2 separate regions of the Homo sapiens genome follow, and region 2 is linked to region 1. Evidence: promoter capture Hi-C in human tissues and cell types (Jung and others, 2019). All regions are on one chromosome and are shown on one strand. The core of a region is centred on a gene start or on the middle of the fragment in contact, and the rest is flanking DNA. Distances in the headings are between cores, read along the strand shown. Region 1 holds the start of EVPLL (envoplakin like). Region 2 overlaps MYO15A (myosin XVA).

Region 1 (4,608 bases), core at 1,411-3,910:
CCCAGGGAGCTTTGCCAGAGTGCTGGCTTCAGCAGCCGTCTAGAGGAGCCTCACACTGTCAGAGTCGGGGAGCGGGGGCAGGCGCAAGAGACTGCTGGGCACCCTAACATTCTCCAGAGTTGAGGGTTCAAAGCCCAGATTGTGCCCTAACTTGCTCTGAGTTACGTGGTCAGGGACGGAGGGGAAACCTTGCTTCCACCCCAGGGCTTTTTCTGTGCATTCGCCCTGCAGCCTCCATAGAGCACCTGCTGTGTGCATGCAGTCACTCTGTGGAGGTCACAAGGCCAAGCAGACCTAAAAGAGGGCAGATTGGTCCAAGCCTTATGAGCACAGTGCCTTATGGGGGATCATTATCCTGGGGCAGGGGAAGCCTTGAACTGGGTCAAAGGATGGGCCCCCCCAGGCAACGGGACAGTGCTGGTGAAGGCACAGCAGTCTGGAAGAACTCTGTGGCCAAGACAGCCTGGTTTCATCTTTCTCCATCATTAATGCTGTGTGACCTTGGGCAAGTTACTCAACCTCTCTGTGCCTGAGGTTCCTCACTCGTAAAGCAGGATTTTAATAAAAATATCTATGCCTTAGGGCTATTGTGAGCATTAATTGAATTTATCTGTCTGAAACATCCAGTGCAGGCCTGGTGCAGAGTCGGCACCCAGCACGTGTTAGTTTTTATCCCACTAGAGGGCTAGTGCCTTGAAGGCAGGGGCCTGTTGGTTCTGTCTACAGCGACATCTCCAGTGCCTAGAACAGTCCTGGCATGCAGTAAGTGCTCAGTAAGTTCATGTCAAACGAGTGGATCGCACGTGAGGTGATCCAGAGCCAACAGGGCCCTGAGGACTGAGCTGCCCCAGGCCAGGAGCACACTGCTGGGGAGCCTGCCTGGACAGTGGGAGCTGCAGGTGCTGGGCCCTGGGCACTCCTGCTCAGGTCCCGCCTCCTGGGATGGCTGCTCCCACCAGGAGCTGCACACTCCACCCTGGGTGGGGCTCAGGTGCCCCAGGGAGGACAGGTCACTCAGTGAGAGTGTTAGCTGAGAGTCTTAACCACTGTCTTTCCCGTCGGCCCAGACGCCCAGACTCGGTGTCTGTTGGTGCCTTGATCCCTATCGGGGTAATGGGCACCCCCACTCCCACACCAGCTTTTCATCCCTGAGCTTATCTCGACACCCTGGACCCAGGCGGGCTGCTGCCTCCTCTGCAGATGAGCTGAAGCCAGTGAGTGGGAAGAGCGCCACCCAATCCATCCACAGAGAGCTGAGGCTGGGCCCCAGAGAACCGGGTGGTCCAAGGGAGGCCCAGTGCCCCCTGCACCACACCCACTGGAAAAGGAAGCCCCAGCTCTATTCTGTTTTGTTTTAACAGACAGGGTCTTGCTCTGTCACCCAGGCTAGAGTGCAGTTGAGTGATCACGGCTCACTGCAGCCTCGACTTCCCGGGCTCAAGTGATCCTCTCACCTCAGCCTCCCAAGTAGCTCTGACTACAGGCATGCACCACTACATCCAGATAATTTTTGTATATTTTTTATAGAGATGGGATTTCGTCATGTTGCCCAGGCTGGTCTCCAACTCCTGGGCTCAAGTCATCCACCCGCCTCAGCCTCCCAAAGTGGTAGGATTGCAGGCATGAGGTATTGCACCAGGATTTTTTTTTTTTTTAAAGACAGAGTCACAGTCTGTCACCCAGGCAGGAGCGCAGTGGTGTGATCATGGCTCACTGAAGCCTCAAACTCCTGGGCTCAAGCAATAGGCATGAGCCACCATACCTGGCTGTTTTTTATTTTTATTTTTTTTATAGAAACAAGATCTCCCTATGTTGCCCAGGCTGGTCTCAAACTCCTGGGCTCAAGGAATCCTCCCGCATTGGCCTCCTAAAGTCAGGGATTATAGGCGTGAGCTACCGCGCCCAGCCATGAACCCCTAACTCTTCAATACAACAAGGCCCTGGGTGAGAGCTCTGGGGAGGGCTCTGGCTTAGGCAGGAGGCAGCACAGCCCCTGCATCCCTACCCCAGGGATCCCACCCCACCCCCTCAGTCCTCATGCCCTGCACCCAGGCTCCAGGGGTCATCCCAGCCAAGTAGAGCCTTGGGGCAGAGCTGCAGTCACACAACCAGGCTCTCCTGTGTCCCAGCCTCTGGCAGAGGAGGGCATCAGTGCAGGCTCCTGTCCGGCACTTCTCCCGCTGAGCAGCATCAATCTGTGGCCCACAGGCCCCCTTAGAGGATGTAGGGAGCCCCAGGCCATCCCCTGCCTCCTGCCAGGGCTGAAGTTCGGCCTGGGCCTGCGGCTCCCAAGGCAGGGAGAGAGTCCACCCCTGGGCCCTTTGTCCTCGGGACACCAAATGCCAGCACGGGGCTGGTCCTGGGCTCTGGGCCGCCGCCAGGTGGCTCAAGGACCTGGGCCTGGCACCACCCCCACCCTAGCTCCCTGGCTCCCCATCCCCTAGTCCCACTCACCAGCTGTGCTTGCTGGGGGAGCCTTTGGGGGACCCCTTGGCTGGGGAGTCCTTGGGGGACCCCTTCCCCTGGGAGCCTTTGCTCAGTCCCTTGAACATGGTCATAAAGGCAGGTGCTGGCTCAGGCTGGGCTTGGCTGGTGAAGGAGGGCAGGAGGGCAGGTGGGAGGCAGCGGGCGTCCTTGCTGGCTGGTCAGCTAAGTCTGGCAAGGTGGGGCGGCTGGGCATTGGGGAAGGGAGTTTCTGGGAGGCCCCTCCTTGCAGGTGAGGCAGCAGGCGGCCAGGCCCCAGGCCTGCCGCGCATGCACCCACAAAAACCACACTCATGCCTGCTCTTGCATAACCAGTCTGGGAGGAAAGGGCACAGCCTTGAGGGTGGGGCCGAGCCTGCCCGACTCCCACAGAAGGTTTGGACTTGTTACACCCACATGCCCAGGGGAGCGCGGTGGCGATTACACCCAGATAGGGAAGGAGCTGGGCCAGGACAGATGGGTCTGGAGACAGACGTGCACATGCAGGCGCAGGCTCAGCGGAGAGGCCCCAGCTCTGGAGCTCAGGATTAATAAACATCTCCAGCCAGCTCAGAGGCCCTGCTGCCAGGCTGGCCCCCACCCACAGCTCTCAATCCCCCAGGAGAGGAGGGGGTGTCCTGCCAGCCCAGGGCCTGGCTCTGTGTTCTCCACTGACATGATGGGGCAGCCAGGGGACGTTCACTCCAGACAACTGGCACAAGGTCCATTTTTTTTTTTTTTAAGAGACAAAGTCTTGCTCTGTCACCCAGGCTGGAGTGCAAAGGCACGATCTCGGCTCACTGCAACCTCTGCCTGCCGGGTTCAAGCGATTCTCCTGCCTCAGCCTCCCAAGTAGCTGGGATTACAGGTGTCCGTCACCACGCCCAGAAAATTTTTGTATTTTTAGCAGAGAAGGGGATTCACCATGTTGGCCAGGCTGGTCTGGAACTCCTGACCTCAAGTGATCCACCCGCCTTGGCCTCCCAAAGTGCTGGGATTACAGGCATGAGCCACCATGCCCGGCCCCATTTTATAAAGTGTGCACAGTGCAGCAGCACCAGGGCTGGCTTCAGGTGCCACTAAGCCTGGGCTCTGGCTGAGGCCCGGGAGCCCGATGCACTTGGCTTTTCCTACCTGCCTCTTCCCCCACCCAGAAATGGCCCCTGGTGGCTTTTATGAAGTCAGATTGAGTGGCAGAGAGTGATGCCAGCTTATTGGTCTTTTCCTCACACTGGGGACCAGGGCTGCTGCCTTTTCCTTCTGTGGTGACCCTCAGCGTCTTCAAGAAAGGGGCGATGGGACCCCCCTTTCCAGGCGCTCATTTTACTGGCCCAGCGTAACAGGCCCCTTCTGCAGAGGTGGCGTCGCTTTCCAGGTCATTCCTGAAATCCCCGTGGTTTTAGTGGAAGGAGGGCTTGAGGGGGAGCCAGGGGATGGAACAGGCGGACTGGGTGACATCACCTGGTCATCCTGGCAGGCCTCGCTGAGGACAAAACAGCCTGGCAGGAGAGAAAGGTCCCAGCAGATGGGGGAGACCAGGGACCGACACCTGATACTGGCCTCAGGCCCCCATGGGATAGAAAAGGCCTGTGCCCTTTTTGGGTGAATCTCATGGGAAGCTCCTGAACTCGGCCATGGAGAGGGGATGCAGTAAACCCCCATTCCTAGAGGTGGAGGAGCTGACAGGGGCAGTGGGGGTGGGGAGGGCAGCAGAGGCCCCTGACAGCAATGAGGAAACAAAGTGGTCTCCAGTGTCCTCAGCTCCCGGCCCATGTCTTGAGTGAGATGCCAATAGAGATGACTGGCCACTCAGCCTCTGCCCCAGCCTGCTCCCACTTTATTCCTGGTGACACTTGTCTTCTAACCACTCATTGTACGCCTGCAATCAACTGTCTTCAGAAAGGAGCCGTTTGTGTGAATGACTATGGGGGCCAACGCCAGCCTCACCCCTGGCCTCCCTGACTCACCTTTTCTTTTCTTTTTTTTTTTTTTTTTTGAGACAGAGTCTCGCTCTGTCTCCCAGGCTGGAGTGCAGTGGCACCAACTCAGCTCACTGTAACCCCTGCCTCCCAGGTTCAAGCAATTCTCCTGTCTCAGCCTCCTGAGTAGCTGGGACTACAGGTGCACACCACCACACCCAGTTAA
Region 2 (5,194 bases), core at 1,447-3,946, 200 kb after region 1:
ATCGTCCAAACAATTCAATGAGGAGGGCATTATTATTATTACCATTGTATATATAGGGAAACAGGCCCAGAGAGGTGAAATGACTTGCCCAAGGCCATACAGCGAGTATGTGGCCTAGTGATGATTCAAACCCAGGCTGCCTGGTTCCAGAATCTGTGCTGTCCCTCACCGGGGCTCCGAGAGGGGAGAGTCCTAGCTCAAGAGCAGTCAGGGAGGAACACAGGGAAGCTTCCAATGCAGTGTCCGTTATGGGAGAGGCTGTGTCAACCTAGAGAAGAGGTGATTCACATTTTGGCTCAACCTGGATGATCTACTTCCAAGAAGCCGCTTGTAGTCTGTGTGGGAGGCCCCAGTTGTATTCTGAAAGCCAAAAGGGCCCCCTCGTTTTCACTCTGCCACATCATCCCTTCCTGAGCCTCATAGTTCAGCTTGACTAGGGAAAAGGTTTTGGGGCAAAAGAATTAGCCTGACACCCCCTCCCCCTCACACACACCATGTATGATCTCACAACAATGAGAAATGAGGGGCAGAGGGCAGGCCTCAGGGCTGCCTCATGTTGGAGCCCACTGTGCTCTGTTTTGGGGGTCCCTATACTGAGCATCAGCGCCGCAGGCAGAACCCCAGGGGTTAAGTGAGCTGCTGCCAGGCATGGCCCCTGCACAGTGGTAACTTGATTGACACCACACTCTTTCTGGTGAGTTCCTTACTTTCCTCACCTTGGGGTCTGCTTCTGGGGAAAGCCAACCCAAGGCAGTGGTGAAAAGCAGGACAGCCCTGTGGCATTTGTATCAGGGGCTCTTTCTTGATCCTCTCCATCCCAGGATGGTCTGATTGACCCCCTAGTCCTGCCAGCTGGGCCTTCTAATCTCTCCCCAGTTACCAACTTCTCCCCACCCATCACCACCACTAGAATCTATGACAAGTTTTCCAGCTAACACTGCAGCAGCCCCCTCTGGTCTCCCCAACTCCTACATTCACTCACCGTTCAGTGGTCAGAATGGCTTTAACAAAGTACAGTCTGTGCAGGTTGTGCCTCCCCTTCCCCCTCTGGAAAACCTTTGAAGGCTGCTCATGGCTCTTGGGATGAAATTCTAAATTTTTTTTTTTTTTGAGACCGAGTCTCGCTCTGTCGCCCAGGCTGGAGTACAGTGTCGCGATCTCGACACACTGCAACCCCCGCCTCCTGGGTGCAAGTGACTCTTGTGCCTCAGCCTCCTGAGTAGCTGGGATTACAGGTGCATGCCACCATGTCCGGCTAATTTTTGTATTTTTAGTAGAGGAGAGGTTTCACCATGTTGGTCAGACTGCTCTCAAACTCCTGAGCTCAAGTGATCCACTGGCCTCAGCCTCCCAAAGTGCTGAGATTACAAGTGTTAGTCACCATGCCCGGCCCAGAAATCCTAAATTCTTTTTTTTTTTTTTTTTTTTTTTTGGAGATGGAGTCTCACTCTGTCACCCAGGCTGGAGTGCAGTGGCATGATCTTGGCTCACTGCAACCTCTGCCTCCCAGGTTCAAGCCATTCTCCTGCCTCAGCTTCCTGAGTAGCTGGGATTACAGGGGCAGGCTGCCCCTGTATATTATTCTTATTTTAGTAGAAACGGGGTTTCACCGTGTTGCCCAGGCTAGTCTCGAACTGCTGAGCTCAGGCAATCCGCCTGCCTCAGCCTCCCAAAGTGCCGGGATTACAGTCATGAGCCACTGCGCCTGGCCCAGAAATCCTAAATTCTTAATGTAGCCCAGAAGCCCTATCGAAACCATCTTTGCCGGCCTCTTCAGTCTCAGATCCTGCTACAAGTAATGCGCACCTCAGGGCCCCTGCGTATGTTGTTCTCTTTCCTCTTTCCCTAGCTAACTCCCACTCACAGGTCTTATCCTAGTTTGCGGTGATTTGACTGTGATTAACTGCCAGTGCCTGGTATTTGCCTCATTCACAGTAGGTATTTAATAGCTATTGAATGGCTGAATAAGTAGATAAATCCTTTCTCTGCTGCCATGGATCTTGCAGCTATGCCCCCATCTACCTATCTAGTCTCCCCAAGTGTTCTCTGCCCCGCACAAGCTCCCCAAAGCACCAGCACTTTCTATCAACATTCACTCGTTTATTTTTTCATTCATATGACAAATATTTTTTAAGTGCTTACTCTCTGTTAGGCATCCTCCTAGGTTCTGGAAGATACAGCAGGGAATAAACATGATTTTCTCTGGAATGTTTATCCTGCTGTCTTCCATCTATTCTTAGCAAACTCCTACTCATCTTTCAAAACTCAATGCTAATGTCCCATTTTCCAAGAAGGCTTTTCCCAAACTTCTCCCTTGTACCACTCTCAAACTTGTGTGGCCCATCAAGTGATGGGGGTCTGGGGTTGGGGATACCCAAGGAGTGGGGGATGGTCTGTTCATAGGCAGTGAATCAGGGGCCTAAGGTAACTCCAACTCCTGCCTCCTCCCTCAGGCTTGTTTTCCGGCCACTTAGCAACTCCATGGAGAAATGGCTGCCAGGCACACCTTTTGTTTGCACAGAAATAACCAAAGACCAGAAATCCAGGCTGACTGGCAGCACAAGGAGGGGCCCCTTAGGAGGACATGTAAGGGCTAGGGTGTGGAGTTGGAGCAGATTCCAACATCAGACCCTGAGTAAACCAAAGGCAGAGGCCAGTTCATCTGGGCAACTGGTGTGGGGCTTCTGTGTCATAGGCAGGAGTTAGGGGCAGGGTCTGCAATGGGTACATGGCAGGAGGCCTCATGGTCCTGCCTTCTGCTCCACTGCACAGTGGGCCAGACTTTTGAAAGTTCCTCCTGCTATCTGATCCAAGTTTGCATGCTGCCATTCCATCCCAGTTCAGGATGGGTCTTCTTGTGTTCTTGGGGATTTGAGTTGCTCCTCCTGCCTCCTCTTAGTGTCCTCCAAGGCTCTGGCCCCTTACAGGGGTCATTGATCCTGAGAGGTTCAGTGATTTCTCTGAGGCCACACAGTGAGTCTTCTGGCAGAAGGTACTGGAGGGCTGGGGGCTGGGTCAGAGCAGGGTGATCTCGCTGGGGGGCAATGTGAGCCGCTTCTCATGGGCACTGAGCAGGTTCTCCACGTGCACGGCCACCACACGACACAGTTCCAGTCCCTGCAGGTGACAGTGACAGTCCACGCCCATCCAACACTTCCCCAGCTCTTACCTTGGGGTGGGAAGTACAGAATGGAGAGGTGGTTGGGAGATAGGTGGAGACCATCATTCATGCAGGGACCCTTGTCCCCACCTCCCCCAGGGCCTGAGAGGAGCATGAAGAGCTGGAAGGCCGAATGGTGGGGTGTGGGCTGCAAGGGGTAAGCAAGCAGGAGACCAAGTGCCTCTTCCGGCTTTGCTCCGTGTGAGCTGTGTGACCCAGGGTCTATCGCTTCACCTCTCTGAGCCTCAGTGGCCTCATCTGTAAGGTCTCAATTGACCAGGGGCCTGCCTCACAGACAGGGCTGTGGTGAGGATTCAGTGAGGCTTTATTGCATGTAAATTCTTTTTTTTTTTTTCCTAGATGGAGTTTCGCTCTGTCGCCAGGCTGGAGTGCAATGGCGCGATCTCGGCTCACTGCAACCTCCGCCTCCCAGGTTTAAGCGATTCTCCTGCCTCAGCCTCCCGAGTAGCTGAGACTACAGGCATGCACCACCACGCCCAGCTAATTTTTGTATTTTTAGTAGAGACGGGGTTTCACCATGTTGGCTAGGATGGTCTCCATCTCTTGACCTCATGATCTGCCCACCTCGGCCTCCCAAAGTGCTGGGATTACAGGCATGAGCCACCGCGCCCGGCCACGTGTAAATTCTTTAGATTTAAAAAATATGAATCCAATCAATAAATGGTAACAGTTTCTAACTGTCTGTTGCCATGGTTACCGCCTGGCTCCCACAGTGCACAATGGGCAGTGACCCAGGCTTAGTGCTCCCAATTGGAGCAGGGTAGGGGAAGGCATCAGGGAATTGCGGAAATCAATCTGTGAATGTGGTTCTCAGACGAAAGCCATTGTTGGAATCCCCCCAGGGAAGCTGCTCTGAGAAAGGATAAAATCATGTTAGAGGCGCACTCTGAGTGTTAACTGTGTGCCAGGCCTTGTCCTAAAGGCCTGATGTGTCCTACCTGTTTTAATCCCCACAGTGTCTCTAAGAGACAGGAGCTATTATATCCCATTCCACAGGTGGGGAAACAGGCACCGAGCCTTGAAGCTCCAGACTGCACAACTGGTAGGTGGTGGGATTTGAACCTGGATGGTAAGAGGCTTGAGGATCACACTCTGAAGTGCTCTCTGTTGAGGTTAGCTGTGCTGGCCCTGCCTTGGGGGCCACCTCGACTAATTAAATCAGCGTGTGCAAATGGAGTCTTCTCCTCCAGCCAATCCTTTACCTACCTACATGCTGCCATGTTCTAGGCCTTGCTGGGATTGTTGCTGCATTTGACAGTGTGGAACCTGAGGCTCAGTGAGAATCAGGGACACCTCAAGATCCCCTCACACAGCCTGTCAAAGGTAGGCAGGATAGGGACCCAGGTCTGTTAGTGCAACACTGCTGCACTTAGACATCACCTCCTCCTGGAAGCTCTCCCTGATTACCTCCCAGATAGCTCAGGTCCCCTGTATACCCTCCCAGCACTGATCAAGGTATATTTTATATCTGAGACCTGAGGCTCTGTGAGGGCCAGAGCTGAGGGGGTCTCAGTCACTTCAGTATCTTTGCTACACAGAGATGCTCAGTGGATCTATACTGAATGAGTGAATGAATGTAGCCCCTGACACATACAGGCCAGAGGCAGAGAGGGCAGCATAAGGAGGTCAGGTGGTGCTGCAAGGAAGTGGGAAAAGCAAAGAGGCCTTCATCCATCCATCTATCCACCCACCCACCCATGCAACCAACAAATATGTATGGAGCATCTACTATGTGCCAGGCGCTGAGTTATGGACACAGCATGAACAAGATGGATACGGTCCTGCTCTCTTGGAGCTGACATTCTGATGGGGGAATGATACAGTTTGGATATTTGTCCCTTCTAAATCTTGTGTTGAAATGTGATGCCCAGCCAGGCATGGTGGCTCATGCCTGTAATTCCGGCACTTTGGGAGGCCAAGGCGGGTGGATCACTTGAGGCCAGGAGTTTGAGACCAGCCTGGCCAACATGGTGAAACCCCGTCTCTACTAAAATACAAAAAAATAGCCGGGCA

Evidence for each region. Contacts are between HindIII fragments. The study calls those that stand out against the background at their distance.
Region 2: a fragment that was not itself captured here is called in contact with the fragment with the promoter of EVPLL in region 1 in 2 of the 25 tissues and cell types used here (mesenchymal stem cells and neural progenitor cells).

Annotation. Positions count from the first base shown.
Region 1 is chr17:18,375,830-18,380,437 of GRCh38, reverse strand. EVPLL (envoplakin like) reads right to left here and starts at 2,660. Exons shown (of 11, transcript NM_001145127.2): 1 at 2,455-2,660. RefSeq lists an enhancer at 1-359. The HindIII fragment of the contact is 26,383 bases long and covers 1-4,608 here.
Region 2 is chr17:18,176,692-18,181,885 of GRCh38, reverse strand. It overlaps MYO15A (myosin XVA), which reads right to left. Exons shown (of 66, transcript NM_016239.4): 66 at 2,086-3,117. The coding sequence ends at 3,016. Among named protein-coding and RNA genes, the nearest start is that of ALKBH5, 4.5 kb to the left of the region's middle. RefSeq lists a silencer at 97-391. The HindIII fragment of the contact is 6,024 bases long and covers 1-5,194 here.